2 separate regions of the Homo sapiens genome follow, and region 1 is linked to region 2. Evidence: promoter capture Hi-C in human tissues and cell types (Jung and others, 2019). All regions are on one chromosome and are shown on one strand. Each heading gives the region's core, a stretch centred on a gene start or on the middle of the fragment in contact. The rest is flanking DNA. Distances are from core to core; before and after follow the strand shown. Region 1 overlaps HS6ST3 (heparan sulfate 6-O-sulfotransferase 3). Region 2 holds the start of HS6ST3 (heparan sulfate 6-O-sulfotransferase 3).

The links. Contacts are between HindIII fragments. The study calls those that stand out against the background at their distance.
Region 1: a contact is called between a fragment that was not itself captured here and the fragment with the promoter of HS6ST3 in region 2, in 1 of the 25 tissues and cell types used here (dorsolateral prefrontal cortex).

Annotation. Positions count from the first base shown.
Region 1 is chr13:96,131,153-96,136,548 of GRCh38, forward strand. All of the region lies in intron 1 of HS6ST3 (heparan sulfate 6-O-sulfotransferase 3), which reads left to right. Among named protein-coding and RNA genes, the nearest start is that of HS6ST3, 44 kb to the left of the region's middle. The HindIII fragment of the contact is 3,967 bases long and covers 676-4,642 here.
Region 2 is chr13:96,087,890-96,094,035 of GRCh38, forward strand. It overlaps HS6ST3 (heparan sulfate 6-O-sulfotransferase 3), which reads left to right and starts at 2,218. Exons shown (of 2, transcript NM_153456.4): 1 at 2,218-3,680. The coding sequence starts at 2,974. RefSeq lists enhancers at 1,541-2,041, 2,042-2,542. The HindIII fragment of the contact is 5,364 bases long and covers 1,186-6,146 here.

The DNA.
Region 1 (5,396 bases), core at 1,409-3,908, 44 kb after region 2:
ACTGTAAGTCTTGGAAGGTCAAATCTTCACATCTGCTGCCTTTGAGCTGAACTCAAAACAAGTCATTAACTACATGTAAGAGAAGAGTATATTTTACTTTACTAAAGAAACTCTTCTATTCATTGAAACTGCTTCCATTTATTCTTTAGAATGTTTTTCTTTGTTTATTAGTCTACTTAAGGCTTAGGATATTTTTTCTTTTAAACAAATTAAAAAAAATCTTACTGGTTGAAGTTAAACATTTTATTGAGGTTTACTTTTTTTAAAAAAACTTAAAAAAATTGACACAATTGTATGTATTTATGATGTACTCATGACGTTTTGAAATATGTATGTTGTGGAATGACTAAATAAATCTAATTAACATTATGTATTACCATACATGCTTATCATTTATTTGTAGTGAGAATGCCTAAAATCTACTTTTCTAGCAATTTTCAAGTATATAATACATTGTTATTAACTATAGTCACTAAGTTAAGTTTCTTGACCTTATTCCTCCCATCTAATTGAAATTTTGTATCCTTTGATCAGATCAACATCTCCCTAGTCTCCTCTCCCTCCCCTAACTCCTGGTAACCACTATTCTACTCTTTTTTTTTTTTAATCACATATCATTTATTACCTAGAAAATAAAATGTCTAAGATAGATAATGGCGTGGAGACCATCTAATTATTTTTAAATTTGTAACCTGACAAACGTCACAAAATTGTTAGGAAGTTTTCACTAAGCCTTATATCATGGAAAAGATAAAAAAAAAGGTAAAAACTTTTATATGGTACTCTACTTTTTATAAAACATTACACTCTGAGTTCAATTTTTTTAGATTCCACATATAAATGAGATCATGTGGTACTTGTCTTTGTGTGTCTGGCTTATTTTATATAACATAATGTCCTCTAGGTTCATCCATGTTTTTGCAAATGACAAGATTTCCTTCCGTTTTTCAGACTGAATAGTATTCCAGTACACACACACACACACACACACACACACACACACACACACACACACACACAGAGCGCATTTTCTTTTTCCATTCATCTGTTGATAGACATGTGGGTTAATTCTGTATCTTAGCTATTACGAATAGTTCTACAAGGAACATGGGAGTGCAGATATATTTTCAATATATTGATTTCCTTTCTTTTGGATATAGCCCCAGTAATGGGATTGTGAGATCATATGGTAGTTCTATTTTTAATTTTTGAGGAACCTCCATACTGTTTTCTAAAATGGCTGAATTTTTTCTTTTTCTTTTTTTTTTTTAAGACAGGGTCTTGCTCTGTCACCCAGGCTGGAGTGCAGTGGCACACAATCACAGCTCACTACAGCCTCGACCTTACAGGCCCAAGCAGTCTTTCAGCTCAGCCTCTTGAGTGGCTGGGACCACAGGCGTATGCCACTATGCCTGTCTAATTTTTAAGTTTTTTGTAGAGATGGGGTCCCACTATGTTGCCCAGGCTGGTCTTGAATTCCTGGCCTCAAGTGATCCTCCCACCTCAGCCTCCCAAAGTGCTGGGATTGCAGGTATGAGCCACTGCACCCCCCAGCTAATGGCTGTATTAATTTATACTCCCCATCAATAGTGTACAGGTGTCCCTTTTTCTCCACATTCTCACTAACCCTTGTTATCTTTTGTCTTTTTGTTAGTAGCCATTATAACAGGTGTGAGGTAATATCTCATTGTGGCTTTAATTTGCATTTCCCTGACGATTAGTAATGTGGAGCATTATTTTATATACATGTTGGCTACTTGTATGTTTTTTGAGAAATGCCTCTTCAGACATGTTTATTTGCCCATTTTTTTTTAATCGGGTTATTTGTTTTCTTGCTATTGAATCTTTTGAGTGCCTTTTATATTTGGATATTAACTCATAATATACATGGTTCTCAAATATTTTCTCCCATTCTGTGGATTGTCTCTTGACCTTATTGTTTCCTTTGCTGTGTAGAAGCTTTTTAATTAATTAATTAATTATTATTATTTTTTGAGATGGAGTTTCGCTTTTTTGCCCAGGCTGGAATGCAGTGGCCCAATCTCAGCTCACTGCAACCTCCGCCTTCCGGTTTCAAGTGATTCTCCTGCGTCAGCCTCCGAGTAGCTGGGATTACAGGTGCCCACCACCATGCCTGGATAATTTTTGTATTTTTTGCAGAGATGGAGTTTTACTATGTTGGCCAGGCTGGTCTTGAACTCCTGACCTCGTGATCCGCCCGCCTCGGTCTCCCAAAGTGCTGGAATTACAGGCGTGAGCCACTGCACCTGACCTATTATCTTTTTTTTGAGATGGAGTCTCACTCTGTTGCCCAGGCAGGAGTGCAGTGGTGCAATCTTGGCTCACTGGAACCTCTGCCTCCTGGGTTCAAAGGATTCTCCTGCCACAGCCGCCAGAGTAGGTGGGACTACAGGTGTGCACCACCATGGCTGGCTGATTTTTGTATTTTTAGTAGAATCGGGGTTTCGCCATGTTGGCCAGGCTGGACTCGAACTCCTGACCTCAGGTGATTTGCCCGCCTTGGCCTCCCAAAGTGCTGGGATTACAGGTGTGAGCCACTCTGCCTGGCCCTGTGCAGAAGCTTTTTAGTTTGGAGTAATCTCATTTGTCTATTTTTACTTTTGTTGCCTGTGCTTTTGTGATCATAGACAAAAAAAATCATTGTCCAGAGCAACTCTTTGAGCTTTTATGTTTTTTTTTTTTTTTTTAGTAGTTTTACAGTTTCAGGTCTTACATTTAAGTCTTTAATCCATTTTGAGTTGATTAAATGGATTAAAACATGTAATCCATTTTGAGTTGATTTTTGTATGATGTGAGGCAAAGGTCCAATTTCATTCTTCTGCATACAGATATCCTGTTTTCTCAACATCATTTAATGAAGAGACTGTCCTTTCCCCATTGTTTATTTTTGGCATCTTTGTTGAAATCCAGTTGACTGTAAGTTCATGGATTTATTTCTGGGCTCTCTATTCTGTTCCATTGGTCTGTGTGTCTGTTTTTTTGCCAGCCCCTTGCTGTTTTGATTGCCATTTACTTTTGTTGTTCTTTTATTTCTTTATCTTATGAATTTTAGAAAAGTTGAAACTTTTTTTATATTTGTCTTATTACAGTTACACTCTTAAATGTCTCAGCTTATGGCTTTATGTATTTTAATATCTTTTTCTAATACTTTTAATACTTTATATGGTAATTTTTCACTTGTGTTATTTTTTTACCCCCTCTTTTTTGGTGTCATGGTTTTACCTTTATTTATCTTCTTTTCATTTTCTGTATTTAATATTTTTTATTTTGCTCTTTTTCTGATTTTTATTTTTTACCTATTTCCATTTTAACAGTGTCATAATTTTTTCTTTTTATTTCTAAGCTCTTGGTAACTATTGTATAGACTTTACTTTTACTAGCTATTTGCATTGTAATATTCAAAACCCTTTCATGTTTATTTATTTATCTATTGTTTTCCTGATATATTCCATTTCTTTATTATTTCTTAAAATTAAAGACACACAAGCATTTTGTTGGTGATGAAAATTACAAGGACATTCTTGCCTCTGTAGTCTTGGATGTTTTTGTCCTGACCGTCTCTCACAGTTGCTCTTTTGGGTTTGCAGAATCTCTCTCCATATGCCTAGTGTGAATTCTCCAGGTAAAATGAAATCATCATGGATACCCCTAGAATTGCATGTGACACATTTTTGATCCAAGAATAATAGTTTTCTTTATGGAAGGGGCATATTTTATATTAGAATTAGAGTTTTTCTTTTCTTGCATCCCATATTGGTCAGTTGTATATTAGACTCTGCACAGTCTCACATCCATTCTGTCTGACACAGTCATTGGGACCTGCAAGTTTCTCAGCACTGCGCCACATTACTGAAAGAAGAGGTCAGAGGGGAAGGCTGCTCCTGAGACCTGGCATTGCTGAAGAAACTTCTAAAAGACCATTCTGGAAGGAGGCTGTATAGTGAGATCACAGTCATGCTCCTGAAATCTGTTCTACCTCACCCTGCCTTGCATGTTGAGTTGGACCTGCCACCCTTCTTAGCAGGTTTATGGGAGACTGCTGGGTGTGTTGATCTTCTTCCTTCATTCCCATGTGTCCCAGGAACACGTGGGCTGCAGTTATCACCGTGGACTTTCTTTCCTTTTTTAAAGAAAATACAAACTTGGACAAATAAAAGTAGAACTCTACTGCTCTCTGTTATGGTAAGAACACACAGTGAATCATAAGTCTGGTCTTAGACATATACTTTAAAAATAGAATGGTGAGGTAACTTAAAAATCATGTCATATGAGGAACAGTTGAAGGAATATTGAGTCTAATTATAAGAGGAATTTAAAGAAAATTTGTTTGCTATTGGCGGTATCCCTAGGGCTGTCATGGAAGAGGAGTTTGCTAACTAGGGCAGAACTAGATGCAATGGGTGGAATTTACAGGGATCCAAGTTTTTCTGTGTTTATGGAGAAAAACAATTCAAATGTGAAAACTGTTAAACCACACGGCATACTGCTTCAGAGCGGACCAAGATGGGCTAATAGGGCCGTTGTTAGGGAGGTGTTGTGCCTATTAACTTCAGCAGGGATGGTGCCCGGTTCAAGAGGCCAGAGACCCACAGCCAGTGAATTAGGCATAGAGTTTTATTGAGGACTTACAGGGATGGCTCAGTGGTAGCAGGACAGAAGAACCACTACCACTTATAAAAAGCATGCAGTTTATATAGCATTTTCACTGAGCACCTCCACCCCCACCAACAAACTACACCTGGCAACCTTCACTTACCCCAAAAGAAAGGGCCTCTCTCCCCTGTGCAGCCTGCATTCCACCGGTGGGCTCAGATATTTCTCATAGATAAGGAATGAATCTTCTGATTGGCCACACTTGGAACTCCCAACACACATTCAGGTGTGTCTGCCGTATAGGGTCATTCTGAGGGTATGCTTAAGGTAAGTTATCACCGTCAGGTGCACCTACAATACACAGGTTTGTTTACCCTATAGGAGGTTAGAAGTTTCTGTGATTCTTTGACCTTGTGTTCATTTTACCTCTGGCCTTAAATTGGATTTTTAAAGAAAATAAATTTTATTGTGTATTGTATTAGTTTATTCTTCTATAAAACAATACTTGAGACTGGGTAATTTATAAAGAAAAGAGGTTTAATTGGCTCATTGGCTTCCACGGGCTATATGGAAGCGTGGCACCATCTGCTTCTGGGGAGGCCTCAGGGAGCTTTTACGCGTGGTGCAAGGCAGAGCAGGAACAGGCGTCTTACATGGTAGGACCAGGACCAAGAGAGAGAAGGGGGAGGTGCTGCACGCTTTTAAACAATCACATCTTGTGAGGAGTCTATCACTATACAGTACCAAGGTTGGAGGGATGGTGTTAAACCATTTATGAGAAC
Region 2 (6,146 bases), core at 968-3,467:
ATAAAACGAGATTTTCGGAGATAATGTTCTTTGAAAAGTGTTAAAGGTACACTTATTTATGGAAATACACGTTTTGTTAGCAATGTAGCTGCTACATGTTTGTCGTACATTTTATTTTTACAATTCTCCTAAGTGATTTAACAATTATATAATCATTTTATGATTGTTATTGTTATTTTTCCCTCTTTCTTGAAACTAATAGACTAAGTGACAAAATACTGCAGGATGTAGAATTGCTCAGCTTTGCCTATAAAGTCAGGAGGAGAGATAACATAATTTAATTATTCTATTGCAATTCTGTTGTCTCTTCTTGCCTCTTGACTCAAATGGTCTCAAGAGGGGAGAGAGGAAATTATGGGCTCTGTTGTTGATGTTTGTTGAACTTCTTCAGTGACTGTATTTTCGGGATGTTAGCAGTTTCTAATTTGGCTTTGCTTTCACCTAACTTTCCTTGCTTCAGTTTCCTCATCTCTGAAATGGGATATTATACTTCTCTTATCTCCTTAGAGTGTTGTTCTGAGAAGCAAATGAAATAATGGCTAGGAGAGTGCTTTCCACTATACAAACTACCACTAGCATTCTGGTTATCCATTTTGGTAGCTAATAAGGTGATGTTTATCCATGTGATATCAAGCAATTTTATAGGAAATGAGAAGCTTCTTCAATAAGGTGATATAAAAAGGTATAATGATGTTTTACTTAACTAAAGCAGAGGTATGTGTATATTAAGCAGACACATTCAGAAAATAATTGTTGGGCTTTTGTTTTATCACAGTTTCTTGCTGTGGAGTGGGGTGTGATGCCATTAATAGGATTTCAAACTTAAGTGAGAGAAAAAGAAATAGAATCAAATAAGCTTTAAAGAAGCTGATTCATCTCACCCAACACCTTTTCTACTGATATAGCCTCCTACATATTAGGAAAGGCAAGGGTTGGAGTTGTTTAAAGAGTTGAAAACGGGAAAGGAAATAGAGGAGGGAAGTTTTATTGAGAAGAATTCCACCTGTCTAAACAAGGAAAATAGTATCCTATGGGCAAACTTTAGCATCCCTGAAAGAGCCCTGGATCTTCACTGATGGCTGCAGAGGGGACACCCTGATAAATAGATGACATCGACAGAGTGTCTCAGGAAGAAACAAGTGCATGGATTCATAAAAAGGCCAGATGGGACGGTGGGCTGCTATGAAATATTATAGCACACCTGTGGAATACGGTAGTGTAGCTGGGAGGGACACATTGGTCTGGGCCAGGGAATCACACTGCATTGTCCTCACACATTGCCTTTAACACATTGCCACTCTCCACTCGGAAAATAGGTCGAGCAGGTCTAGGGACTGTGGTAGGGCAGTTACAACAATTTGATCGTATATCTTTTCACTATCTGAAAAACAGAAGTTGTTATTGAGCAAAGATTTAGTTCTGGGGTAATACTAAATGCAACATCTAGATGTTTGAAAAATAAAGTTTCCAAAAAACATCTGCATACAAATTAGGGCTTATGAAATATAGGCAAGCTTAAGTGTTATCTTCCACCATTGTTGGGAAGGAATAAATCTTGAACATTTAGGAGTTCAACGTCTATTAGTAGAATGATTTTTTTAGGAGGTGATCCCTAAACTCCTTTTTATGTTCTAAGTACTGCATGGTTGAGGGCTGGACTGTCTAGTGCTGAAAGAAAGTGTGTATTGAACATAGAGCCTGATACACAGTTAGGCGCTTAATGGTTAATTGATGCTGGTTGAATACAGTTGTATAGTTGGACGCACCAAGTTTGTTATTAAGGGAGGACCACCATAAAACTCGAACACCAGTTAGAATGTCTTGGGTAGAAATTCACAGCAGTCTGGAGCCACGTTCCCCTGCTGAGAAGGGAACTGCCAACCCGTGTAAAGTCTGGTCTAGTGAGTGTTCCCGGGAGTGTGCAGGTGTTATTCCTGAAAATAAGGCCGGCCACTACCAGACAGAGAAGCTGCCCATTTTAAGGTGTCAGATCAACGCCAGCGACGCTTACCTCGGGGCCTCCTCTCGCCCCACCTTTGCCTTTCTGCCAAATCTCTCCTTGCTCCCGGCCGAAGGGATTCCCACCCCCAGCTGCCTCCTCCGAGCCCCGCGGAGCAGCGGACTCCTCCCCTGGAAACTCCTCCGGGGCTGGGGGAGGCTTTGGCGCATGCTCCGTACCTAGGGCAGGTTTTTGCTGCGGGTAGCAGGGCTCCTGTCACACCGGCTGGCGGGTTGTGGCGGTGCCAGCCTGTGTGTGCGAGTGTGTCTGCGTGCCTGCGCCTGGGCGGACAGCCCGGAGCGGCAGTGCGACTCGCCGGGAGAGGCGTCTCCGCAGAGGCGCCTCGCCCGCTGCCGCTGCGCTGCGGGGGCCGCTCTGCAAACTTGCGGCGAGCGCCGTCAGCCCTCGCGGCTCCACAGCCCCGCGACCTGCCGGCAAAGGCGCCGGGCGCGCGTGCCGGGCGCGGTGCCCGCGGCCGGCCGGGGCGGCGGGAGCGGGCCGCGCCTTCGCCCTTGGCCGGCGCCCTGGCGAGCCTCATGCAGCCCCGGCGCTCGCGGCCGCAGCTACCCGGCTGCCCGGCTGCGCGCGGCAGGTCCAGGACCCGAACCCCGCTCCCCAGCGCCTGAGCGCCTGCAAGCCGCCGGCGGGATGCCGCGCGTCGCCTGAGAGAGCCGCGCCGGGGCGGGAGCAGGGAGCGGGCCGGCCCGGGCGCACCCGGGAGCGCAGGGCGCCCCACGCCGCAGCCGCAGCCGAGCGCGCCGGCGCCCGCCTCCCCCGCCCGGCTCGCAGGCCCCGGCTCCTCAAGCCCCGAGGGCCGCGGGGCCGCCAGCCAGCCACACGCCTCGGCGTCAGGGGCATGGAGGAACGGCGGGCTCCGAGCCGCGCCCCGGAGTCCGCGAAACTTCCGAGCGGGCGCCCGTCCGCCCTGCCGCCGCCGCCGCCGCCGCTTCGCCTGCCGGCCTGAGAGCGGGACCATGGATGAAAGGTTCAACAAGTGGCTGCTGACGCCGGTGCTCACTCTCCTCTTCGTGGTCATCATGTACCAGTACGTGTCCCCCTCCTGCACCAGCTCCTGCACCAACTTCGGGGAGCAGCCCCGCGCGGGGGAGGCCGGCCCGCCCGCCGTCCCGGGTCCCGCCCGCCGGGCTCAGGCGCCGCCGGAGGAGTGGGAGCGGCGGCCCCAGTTGCCCCCGCCGCCCCGGGGGCCCCCCGAGGGACCTCGGGGGGCCGCGGCGCCGGAGGAGGAGGACGAGGAGCCCGGAGACCCCCGGGAGGGGGAGGAAGAGGAGGAGGAAGACGAGCCGGACCCCGAGGCCCCGGAAAACGGCTCCCTGCCCCGATTCGTGCCGCGCTTCAACTTCAGCCTGAAGGACCTGACCCGCTTCGTGGATTTCAACATCAAAGGGCGCGACGTGATCGTGTTCCTCCACATCCAGAAGACGGGGGGCACCACTTTCGGCCGGCACCTGGTGAAGAACATCCGGCTGGAGCAGCCTTGTAGCTGCAAAGCGGGTCAGAAGAAGTGCACCTGCCACCGGCCTGGCAAGAAGGAGACGTGGCTCTTCTCCCGCTTCTCCACCGGCTGGAGCTGCGGGCTGCACGCCGACTGGACGGAGCTCACCAACTGCGTGCCGGCCATCATGGAGAAGAAGGACTGTCCCCGCAACCACAGCCACACCAGGTACTGTCGCCCGCTGGGTCTCTGTTCTTCCCCCCCACCCCCCATCCCTCTTCCTCAGTCCTGACCCAGAGCGACCCCGCGCTCCCTGCCCCTGCCGATGGTTTCCTGGCGTCTTCAGCGGTTGGCGCCGTGGCTTTGGGGAGGGATGAGAAACCTCCGGATAGTGCCTAGGTCCTGAACTCGTTCTTCCCCCAGCCCCCACCGCTTCCCGCCACCCCTCTGCCTTCACCCTCTAAGATGTGCGGAGCCACCGTGTGGATCCTGCCTGTTGCCTAGCACGGCCTGGCCTCCCTCCCAGTGGACGCTGGAAAAACGCCCTGAAATGGGGAGCGGATCGCGGTCTGGGTTAGACCAGCCTTGTAGAATTGTGAACTTAAGTTTTGGGAGTGTAAACCCAAACCCAGGAAAAGGAAGGGGGAGTAGAGAGGCAAGGCACGAGTTTTCCAGGCGTGGTGAAGCTGGAGACGAGTATAATCCCTCCCTAAGTGGCTTTTGGATGGCAGCTCAGGAAACAGTCAATCCTCTTGATGCCACTTTGAAGACACACGTGCAAATTCCTGTTCTACCGCGATAGATAACTCTAATTCTGGAGATGGTCTTTGTTGCCCAGCAGTGCCAGGATTTGGACTCACCTGTCCTCAGAAAGATTTCCATGCTCTTCCTAGGCCATTACATCAACTTATTCCAAAAGTATGTTAAATGCCTACAGGGTGCCTGACAGTGTGCTAGGTGTTAAGTGAGTATAAAGATAACATAACATCCCTTGTTTTCAGGATGGAATGACATTCTTGATCCCCTGCCTCCCAGCCTTAAAAAACAGTAATACAGTGGAGAATTAAGAAAGTTAAAAATCTTAATAGCCAATGAAACTGCTTACATTATTAACATGCTTTGAGAGAGACATGGGCTTAATAATTTGGTTGAAGGTCCTTTCTGCCCATTGCAATTTGAAGATTAATCTGACATGCTTGCTAAAGGACGAAAATATTAAAAGCTTGGAACACTAGTTCATTGAAGTTTTTATCTTAAAGGTTTCAAACAATTTGGTATGAGGAAATAGGAATTTAAAAGCTCAAGCTGATTATGTTGATATCCCAGATAGCTTTTGCATTTGACGTTATAGAAAAGCTTCATTTACTGGAAGCTACCCAGATTCTGGAATTCACCACCACTGAAGCATCTAATTCTACTTCATTTCTCCAAGAATGAGCAAAATTTCATTATGAGATTTTTTACTCTGGCAATTCTTCAGATACTTTCCTTCCTCCCTGCTCCTTTTCCTGTTTCCTGCACATTAGTTAGAATAAGAAACTGGATTTGGAATGAGGGAATTAGGCTCTTCTCTTAGTATATTTTACGGATCCTTTGCTTTTAAATATTTTTAATAGTGTATTACTTTGGATCTTGCCACTCTCTTTTAGCTTAAAACAGTTTTTCAATTAAGTATTACTTCCAAACCTCCTAACACATAACACTATTACTTCAGTGAGACACAATTTCTGCTACATTTCATCCAACCTTGTACTCCCTGTTTAGATTAATTCCTGATTGACCTCAAAGGGTTTGCTAGACTGCTTCCCAGCTTCCATTTCACTAAAACTGGAGTCTTATTGATTATCACATAGAAATGTCTGATTACTCTTCAGTAGGGGCTGGCATTATTTTTGTCCCAGGTTCATAAAAGTCTTAGTAAATAGATGAAGATTTTAAAGGACTTAGAGGAGGATGTGGAATCTAAAAATAATTAGATTTTTGCTTAGTGATGAATAATGTTACTACAGACCCTGAATAGGTGACAAGCAGTAAGGTCTCACTTCTATAGGAAATACTTAATATCTCTATTCTGTTGACACAGGAAAACTCCACTGTGACTGTTTAAACATATGATTTCTAGTGTATGATCAAGTTATTTTCTTTGTTTAGTAATGGAGCATAAACATTCACTTCTCCCTGAATCACAGGTTAGCAGGCAATTAGTCACCCTGTTCTGGTTTCCTTTCTTTCTAAAAAAAAAAATTTTTTTTTGGTAGTATTTTGTTTTTACCTCATTTTATAATCCTTTCTTTTCCTTCCCACCCTCTCTCTCTCCCCAGTAATTCTCAATTACTTCCTTGCTCTAGATACTGTAGGAGGGAATAGTTGTGGCATATGTGAAGTGCCCTGCATCAAAAGCTATAGGGAAAAAGTTGAAAGGATGTTAACAGTAGCATCTCTCTAGCAGAGAAGATTGAATTAGTTGTCTGTCATTGTAATGTCTGTGTACAGCATTCTACAGTCAACTAGATTAGCCTGGATAATGGAGGGTACCTTTTCACAATGCAAAATGGCAGATAATCTATTGGTACATAATGGGAACAAGGTTCTACTTCAAATAGGGCTGACTCTAAGCAAAATTGATAAGTAGATCTTGTTGATTTTGGTTCCCTAGTCTTTCTGCTTTTGGTCCCCCCAAAGCGCCTCCTCCCA